Linked DNA regions of Homo sapiens: all the other regions are linked to region 1. The links are contacts of gene promoters, found by promoter capture Hi-C in blood cells and fetal thymus (Javierre and others, 2016). All regions are on one chromosome and are shown on one strand. Each heading gives the region's core, a stretch centred on a gene start or on the middle of the fragment in contact. The rest is flanking DNA. Distances are from core to core; before and after follow the strand shown. Region 1 holds the start of FBXO34 (F-box protein 34). Region 2 overlaps KTN1 (kinectin 1). Region 3 overlaps KTN1 (kinectin 1).

The links. Contacts are between HindIII fragments. The CHiCAGO score rates a contact against its expected background, and 5 or more counts as called.
Region 2: a fragment that was not itself captured here is called in contact with the fragment with the promoter of FBXO34 in region 1 in 1 of 17 cell types (naive CD4 T cells); the score reaches 5.2 in naive CD4 T cells.
Region 3: a contact is called between a fragment that was not itself captured here and the fragment with the promoter of FBXO34 in region 1, in 1 of 17 cell types (non-activated CD4 T cells). The highest score is 5.2, in non-activated CD4 T cells.

The regions. Positions count from the first base shown.
Region 1 is chr14:55,269,900-55,272,990 of GRCh38, forward strand. FBXO34 (F-box protein 34) reads left to right here and starts at 1,522. Exons shown (of 2, transcript NM_017943.4): 1 at 1,522-1,638. It overlaps FBXO34-AS1 (FBXO34 antisense RNA 1), which reads right to left and starts at 2,179. Exons shown (of 2, transcript NR_184222.1): 1 at 1,983-2,179. RefSeq lists a silencer at 1,574-2,073. The HindIII fragment of the contact is 2,090 bases long and covers 955-3,044 here.
Region 2 is chr14:55,584,160-55,587,214 of GRCh38, forward strand. The region is part of intron 1 of KTN1 (kinectin 1); the gene reads left to right. Among named protein-coding and RNA genes, the nearest start is that of KTN1, 5.5 kb to the left of the region's middle. The HindIII fragment of the contact is 4,433 bases long and covers 1-3,055 here.
Region 3 is chr14:55,631,980-55,635,102 of GRCh38, forward strand. KTN1 (kinectin 1) reads left to right here. Exons shown (of 44, transcript NM_001079521.2): 8 at 1,256-1,362; 9 at 2,547-2,679. Among named protein-coding and RNA genes, the nearest start is that of KTN1, 53 kb to the left of the region's middle. The HindIII fragment of the contact is 774 bases long and covers 922-1,695 here.

The DNA of each region.
Region 1 (3,091 bases), core at 272-2,771:
TGTTTGAGATGAATCTGAAAGGATAAACTGAAGTTTTACAATTTTGAGCTAACTATGACATAAAGAAGCTTCAAATGATCATGATATATTGAGCTAATATTGCTCACATATTAAATCAGACATACAGTTTGATGCCACGGTGTACCATATAACACCCTTCCTTAATTTTTTTTTTCCTTTTTGAGATGTGAGCCACCGTGCCTGGACTTCCCCTCTCCAATTTTTATTAAAAATATGTATATAGATAAAGGTCTAGATGGAGATACTGAGTGGTTATTTCTTGGTGATGAGATTATGGGAAATATTTTTATTTTGTTTTTACGTTTTAATATTTAAGATTTTACACATATATTTTACAACAGTAGTTTTATAATTGGACAAAATTATTTTTGTTAAGGACTGGCTAAAATCAAAGTTGCTGGTTTAAGTGTAACTTGGTACAACCTTTTAAAAATCATTTGGCAGTTTGTATTAGTAACTGTGAAAGTGTTGATAGTCTTTTTCACCTAGTAATTTCACTTTTGGGTATCTTTAAAAATCTACATTCATGAAGATGTTCTATGATTTCTTTATAATGGCAAAAAGTGAATGAAGGAAACAAGTTATGTCCAAAAATAGAGAATTACTGCAGTAAATTTTATGTCCACTTAATGTAATTTTATGCAGCTGTTAAACTGGTTATGAAGCTTATGTGGAAATATGAGGAATGCTTATAAAAGTGAAAAGAGGATGCAAAATCGCGTACAACTACTATTACAGTGTAGTAAAATATATGTGATGGGGCAAAAGGTCTAGAAGAAAATACATTGTCCTCATGTTTTTCAATGTGGTTAATATTATTTTCACAATGAAAACAATAATAAGCTTAAAGATTGGGAATCAAAAGTTCCTCACTGGCCCTCTGATTTGAATATAAAGTGTTAAAAATTTATATCCATCATTAACCAGCCCTTAAGCTTCTACAGACTTTAACAGTTTCGTGTCAGCCTCAACGTTTATCTACTTTCTGACCGGTATCCCTGCCATGATTTTCATAGGAAAGAGAGTCAGAAGGGACCTTTCCAATTTTGTCATTTTACAAATTGAAACTCTGAACCCCAGCCTTCCAAGCTAGCAGCAGAACCAGTATGAGGATCCAGGTCTACTAGGTTATCTAATAGTATCTGAGACCATTTACAGCTTCAGGTCCACCCACGAATATTCATAAACTTGACATGTCTGCTGATTGAACCCTGGCGTCACTACCCTTCTTGGCTGGCCTGGGAGGTTTGATTCCTTTCCCTACAGTCGTGCTCAAACTTTCATTCTCTACCACTTGGGGGCCGCAGACGCGTCATCCAGGTCTCCCTTTTCACTTCCCCCTTCCCGCCCCCAGTGTCCGGCAGGGGGCGCCGTGAAACTCTGGATCCGTGGCCCCTCCCCCGGCCAACCGTCGATTGGGCCGGCGCGTGACGTCACTCCGTTTTAGCCAAACAAATGGGTTTCGGGGCGAGCGTTGGGCGCCGCCGCGCCGCGCTGGGTGCTCGGTCCGACTCAGCGGTGGGGAGTGAGCCAGGCCTCCCGCCACCGCTGCTGCCGCCACCACTGCGTCGGGCTGGTGCAGCCCCGGGCCAGGCCGCGGCCGGGGCAGGAGCGCAGGTGGGTCCGGGCCGAGGTGGGGCGTGGCGCGAGGGCCGCGCGACTGGGGTCCGGCGGCGGCCACCGTGGCCGCTCCCCGCCCCCTACCGCCGCCTGCCTGCGCTCCCGGGGCGCGGGGCGGGTGGGGGTGGGGGCGGGGGCGCCGCCCGCGGGTCCGGGGTAGGGACCCGGCCGCCTGCGCCTCCTCCGGTGCGGCTCTTTCCGCGCGCACGGCCCGGGCGCTGAGCGTCCCCGCGGGCCACGGAGGGTCGGGCGGGTAGGGAGCGGGGTCCTGGGTCCCCGCTGAAGCCGAGGAGATTCACGGATAGGCCGTGAGCTTGCACCGGACCGGCGCTCCCACTTACGGGACCCAGGGCGGTGAGGAAGTCAGCCTCTGGACTGGGGTCGCCTCGCCCCTGTCGCGCCCTCCCGGGCTCGGCCACTCTGCCCTTCCCTGCCCCAGCGCAGGTGAGCTGGCGCTTGTCCTTAACCTTCTTCAACGACGAGGCGGGACGGAGGCTCGGACGCCTCCCCAGCCTCTGGGCTGGCGCAAGTCGACTGCGGTTCGTCCTCAGTCCACGATGAAGTCATAGGGCTGTGGGTCCGTGTGTCTGTGACGTCAGAAGATGGGTCCTGGGATGTCACTGCAGGCCCGGGCGGGGACCTGGGCTCACGGAAGGGCCGGGGGGACCCGCAGGGTAGAAAAAGGAAGTTGTCTTCCACGAACGCTTGGAATCGCAGTGGATTTGAATCGAAAGTTGTTCGGTATCAGCATTTTGCAATTTTAATGTAATAGTTGTCAATTTCTTTAACTTCTTGTCCAGCAAGCGTTGCGAGTACAGCTCAGTATAAGACATTTGATTTAGAAAAACTTAAGTCAGGGTAGGAGGTTTTTTGGAGGGTGTAATGTAAAAAGCCTTTTAGGAAGCTAAATTCGTAGTTTGATAGTTTGCAATCAGAATTACTGAAAAAAAAGAGAACCACTTCTAGTGTTGATAAATCAGTTTGCTTTTTTTTTTTTTTTTTAACTGGACATCTATCTGCTTGTTAGCATTTTTTGTTAGAAAATGGCCAGGAGGAGGGAGAGTGGATCTTACATGATTTTTTTTTTCTGTTGTAAAGGGAGGGAGGAGTTTGAATTAATCCAACATTTGTCTTAAATAATAATTACCTGAGGAGTTAATTTATCCAGGTTGTCCCTATCCCACCCTATGGTACCATGCTACCACCCCATGCTACCATGGTTTAGAAGTCAGCAACAAGCTGTTTTCTTGCTTTCTTACTGAGACCCGGCTATAACTTAATATAAAAACATATTCCAGGACCGCTTGTCTGGATAGGTAACTAAAATTTTGTCTGTAGTGCTTTTAAATATGAAATTAGAGAATAAAAAAATGATTTGTCTGTGAATACTGTTTTTCTTCCAAAGCTTTCAGAAGAGATCTAACTGGAAGAGAAGCTAGTCACTTTGTCA
Region 2 (3,055 bases), core at 105-2,604, 310 kb after region 1:
TTATGTCCTTAAGGCCATGCAGAATCTGGACACTTCCACTCTCCTCATTCCCCCTTACCTCTAAGGTTAGCTACTATCATCCCTCTGCTTACTTCTCTCTGGCTCCAATGGTTTTCCTAAGGGCAGCTACATATCAGACACTGCCCTAAACGCTTAGGCTCCATCAATAAACAAAACAGACGAAAAGCTCTGCCCTGATAGAAGTTGTGTAATAGTGTATGTTTGAGGGCAAGGGGAAGAGATAATAAACACAATCAATGAGGAAATTATATACTGTTTACTTCTCCTGGCAAGAAGGTGACAAGTGCCATGGAGGAAACAGAGCTGTTTTTTACACTGGCTGTTACCCTGTAGATACATGCATGGCTTGTTGTCTCCGTCCAGTCTTTGCTTTTTAAATGTCAGTTTCTTAAAAAGATGTGCCTATTTTATTTAAAACTGCACTCCCCTACGTCTGATTCTTGTACCTTGCTCCGTTTTCTTTATAGCATTTGTCACCTTCTGTCATACTATATAATTTCCTGGTTGTGTTTATTGTCTCTTCCACATAACCCTCAAACACAGTATTACATAGCTTCTATGAGGGTAGGCTTTTTGTCTGTTTTATTGATGACTCTTTAAGAGTTCAGAGCAGTGTCTAGCACATAGCAGGTCCTCAATAAGAATTTGTTGAACACAATAATTAAATCCTGGCTGGGTGTGATGACCCACATCTGTAATGCCAGCACTTTGGGAGGCCAAGGTGTGTGGATTGCTTGAGCCCAGCAGTTTGGGACCAGCCTGGGCAACGTGGCAAAACCCCATCTTTAAAAAGAATATAAAAATAGCCAGGCATGGTAGCGTGTGCCTGTGGTCCCGGCTTCTTGGGAGGCTGAGGTGGGAGGATTGCTTGAGCCAGGGAGGTGGAGGTTGCAGTGAGCTGAGATGGTGCGACTGCACTCCAGCCTGGGTGACAGAGTGAGACTGTGTCTCAAAAAAAAAAAAAAAAAAAAAAAAATCTCACATTCCTTCCTTTGATGGATAACTCATTATTGGATACATGTAGTTTTCAGTTTGCTCCTTTCCTCTTTCAGGGATGGTCAGAGAGTGGAAGAAAGTGGCATGGAGCCTTTGGGAGCTGCTTGGTGGAAGGAATGATGTTAGAGTGTGGTGGAGACCCTCTTACATACTCCACATGATTAGGACCATTTGTTAGTTAATTCAAAAAGTTGGTTAAAGCAAGGAATCAAAATATATGTGCACCTTAAATGTTTTCACTTAAAATATTTGATTTTACTTTTATTTGCCTTTTTATTTTTACTGATTTCTTTTCTTAAAATAAAGGTTATCCTGATTTTCCTTTCATAGATTGTACTCTAAAAGCATTATCTATGATTTCTAGTATTGGTTTCTTTAAAGTGGAATGAAAAGATAGGCACTGGGAAACTCTCCAAGTACAAAATCTTTATAGATTTTTCCAGTTATTCATCAAGGCCTTCCAAAGGATTTAATGTCATTTTTATAGAAATAACACCTTTTGACTCTATTTTCATGTTTGATAGATATATAGAAATAAGTGAGTAGGAGAGTAATTGCTAGCCAGAAACAGCTTTCTGAAGACACCAGCCCATGTATTTTTACAAAGGAGGAGAATGTCAGTTAATCCAGTGAGAGATCCTGTAAGACAGCTTCCACTTTGAATAGGTTCCATAGGGGCCGTAGGATCATAGCAGCCTATAATTACTAGAAGAGAATGTTATTTACCCTTATTTCTTTATTTTGACTCTGAGTAACATCTACAATTAGTTTTCAGAACTTATGTGAATTCAAGTAAGTGTACATTGTCTATCAGGAGACATGATGTTACACTGCATTTTCGCTGGAAAATGTGGGACAATTATTATTCTTATGCATGAGTCATTGAGTTGTTAAGGAAACAATCTGGTCTGGTATAATAAGCTGGAAGTCACTAGTTAGGAGACCTACAGGTCTTAGACCTTATTAACTCTAAGGTTTTATGCAAGTTCTTTATTGTCCAGTTCTTTAATTACATAATGTTCTGTGGGGTAGTGGAAACAGCTTGGGCACTAGGGAGCCTGAAGACCTTGGGCTTGAATTTAGTTTTGCTAGTCAGTACCACTTACTGCATGTGTGATCTTAACCTATATTAACCTGCCTAAGGCTCATTAAGGAATTATCTTACCTCAGTAGTTGCCTCATAAGTGATAGCTAACATTGGAGTACATATTTGCTGTCAAACTCTAAATGCTTTAGGTGCATTATCATATCATATCATATTTAATCTTCTCAACAACCTTATGAGGTAGGTACTATTTGGTGAAAACTAGGGAGACAAATAATTTGTTCAAAGACACAAATATCTTTAGGAGGAGCCTGAATTTTAACTGAGGCATTCTGACTTAGAGCCCATTCTTACCCGTTGAGCTGTTTTATAAGAATGCTTTCTGAAGAAAACAAAACGCTGTCCATGTGCAGCTGTCTAATGTTAGGCATTACAAAGCTAAATTAAGGTTATAAGGATCCCCCTCCCCCCCATAGGAATTAGAAGATTAATTCTTAAAACTAGTGATTTAAATTTAAAGACTTGAAGTTTTTCAAGTGGAGAAAACAGTAAAAGCTACTTAAACCACATGCTATAAAATGTTTTAGTTATATGGAAAGCAGTAGATAGAATGTCGTCCTTTTGTTTCCAAGAAACTTTTCTGTTTCATTTCCTGCATATGTTCATTATAAGTTACTCTTGTGTGATCTTATAGACATTTCTTAATGGTTACCTCGAAAACGCCAACTCTGACCCTACCTAAAAATGCATACCCTCCCTATTCTTTGTCACAGCCTTATTTTTATTCATTGCATTATCAGTCACAACCTGATGTTATAATACGCTTATTTCTTTCTTGGTATCTGCCTCACCTACAAGAATATAAATAATGTGAGGCAGGGACTGTCTTGTTCATCGCTGTGAACTATATGTCTGACACCTAGCTAGTGCTCAATTTGAATGAATGGATGGTCTGATGCTTGAAAATGATTGGGACTCATTGAGTCTTTTGCT
Region 3 (3,123 bases), core at 59-2,558, 360 kb after region 1:
TAAAATATTCTTTGCTGCTTTCAGAGTCCCAGTGTTTTCCTCTGAAATGCCACTAATAGCAAAAAAGAAGTGAATGATGCTGTTTTCATGTTCTTACCCTATCCACTGCTTTTAGCATTTGTTTAACTCATTCCTTCATCTTCTCATCCCCCAGCAATTTGAGTTAGTGAAGAACTGATTTTCCTAGCCTCAAGTGATCTTTTCTTCTTAATTCCTAATTCCTGTTAATTTGAAAATTAGGCAGATACTTGTAGCAGCATCTTTTGTTGAAGGTGAAAGGTATTTAAGTGATTCATCCTGTTTTACTTGATTACTTACAGAGGTCAGGATATAGATTCCATATGATAACTTCTGTGAAAAATAGAAATGTATACCTTAATTTCCCTTAATAAGCAACAGTTTCTTTTGAAAGAATTATTAATAAGATTATTTCATACAAAAACATGTTCTTATGAGAATATAAGAGTCAGTGTGCCTTTATCTTTAGATTCTTTAATCCAAAATTTAAAAATTAGAAGAAGAAAGTTAGAGTGGTGGTCGCCAGGGGCTGCAGGGAGAGGAATGGGAGTTATTCGTTAAAAGGTGTAGAAGGTGTTTTACACAATGAAGAGAGTTATGGAGAGATGAATGGTGGTCATGATTACACAGCATTATGGATATATTTAATACCAGTGAACTGTATACTTGAAAATGGTTAGAATGGTACGTTTTATGTTATATGTATTTTATAATGTAAAAACTTGGAAAAAAAATTAAGAGGTCAGAATATTTTAGCAAGCAGGTTTTTGTGTTATCTATATGATTATGGCCCAATTTGTAACTTAATATAAAGTGTACCAAACATATTTTCAGTTTTTAAACTTTGGCTTACTAAAGACTTTAAGAATATTGCTAATGTATAATTGACATAAGATCAGGACAAGCTTAATTTTGTATGAATCTATTCGGTAGGAAAGAAATCCTAAATCATATTTAGTTCTGAAACATCATCTCTAAGCATGTTTATCTTGTATTTCAAATATGATAGCAGCTAGCATCTACTTGTATTCTTGAATGTGGTGACAGTTTGTATTTGATTTGCATTCATCACTAACAAAATATAATTCTTTTAAATTTGTTTATATTTATTTGAGAAGAATGATTCAAACTTCATTCTATTGATGTTTTTTATATTCTCATTTTAATAAAGTTTATTTTAAAAGTTAGCTTTGACAGTCTTTGTTTTCTAAGTTTTATGTGTGTAAAATAATTTTAGTTTCAGCAAGTTCGTGAGCAGATGGAGGCAGAGATAGCTCACTTGAAGCAGGAAAATGGTATACTGAGAGATGCAGTCAGCAACACTACAAATCAACTGGAAAGCAAGTATGTTTCCAAATACCTTATTTTTTAATTGAATGGCAGAGTATTTTCTTGAATCATCAAAATATTAATAGCGTTTGATAGTAATTGGTTAGACTTTTGTGTTTTTACATTTGTTTCTAAAATGAGTTACTTTTAAAAACAATTCTCTTTTGCTTTGTGAAGAACTTCTTCAGTTATACATATGTAAACTATGTTATATTAATGTCATACTATTATATACTTATACAAATACATTAATATATATCATATATTACATATTTATATAAACATGTATGTGTATATTGTATATAAACTATGTAATAAATACTAGTACCACCAATGGAATGGTCTACAAGCTTATGAGTTTATAAGTTTTAAACCATCTGTCCCCTTTCACAGTAGCTCCCAAACTTCAGTGTTCTGAAGAACACCTGGCATTCTAATTAAAAGGTGTATTCTTGAGTCCTCCCCTTAAAAGATTATGATTCACTGACTCTGAGGTAGAGCCCAGGAGTCTACATATTAAGACACTTTCGGGCCGGGTGTGGTGGTTCATGCCTGTAATCCTGGCACTTTGGGAGGCCGAGGCAGGCGGATCACCTGAGGTCAGGAGTTCGAGACCAGCCTGGCCAACGTGGTGAAACCCCTGTCTCTACTAAAAATACAAAAATTAGCTGGGCTTGGTGGCACACACCTGTAATCTCAGCTACTCGGGAGACAGGAGAATCGCTTGAACCTGGGAGGTAGAGGTTGCAGTGAGCCCAGATTGTGCCACTGTACTCCAGCCTGGGTGACAGAGTCACACTCCGTCTCAAAAAAAAAAGACACTTTCCTTGTGATAGTGATTGGCTCTGAGGCCATACTTTGAGAAATAGTACCTTAGAGAGACTAGTAATACCGGTACACAGTACCCTGACTGGCTGATTTTTAATACGTTTTCAGAAGACCAGTTTGAAGGTGACACTATTTATGGTCATCCATTTTTCTTGATATTTTACAGTGATTTTAGAATTTGAATAACTCATTAGAATTATATAGGAATTATACAACTAAACTTTATTGTTAGTAGTCACTTGTGTTCTGTTTCAGTTGGGCTGTAAATGGAACTACTAGCTCAGCTCAGCAAAACTAACAAAGTATGTTTTGTTTATTTCTTATATATATTTGTAATAACGGAAGGCTCCTAATCCAGTTACTGTTTTCAGGCAGTCTGCAGAACTAAATAAACTACGCCAGGATTATGCTAGGTTGGTGAATGAGCTGACTGAGAAAACAGGAAAGCTACAGCAAGAGGAAGTCCAAAAGAAGAATGCTGAGCAAGCAGCTACTCAGTTGAAGGTGATATATTCTCACCTTTATTTGTCATTTCATGAATAATATAGGCGTATTAGTTCGTTTTCATACTGGTATGAAGAACTGCCCGAGACTGGGTAAATTTTTAAGGAAAGAGGTTTAATTGACTCACGGTTCAACATGGCTGGGGAGGCCTCAGGAAACTTACAATCATGGCAGAAGGTGAAGAAGCAGCAAAGCATCTTCTTCACGAAGCAGCAGGAAGGAGAAATGCCGAGCGAGGGGGAAGACTCCCTTATAAAACCATTAGATCTTGTGAGATCTCACTATTACAAGAACAGCATGGGGGAAACCATGCCTATGATTCAGTTACCTCCACGTGGTCTCTCCCTTGACACGTGGAGATTATGGGGATTACAATTCGAGATGAGGTTTGGGTGGGGACACAATGCCTAACCATATCAGTAGGTATTTAATTTGATGACTTAA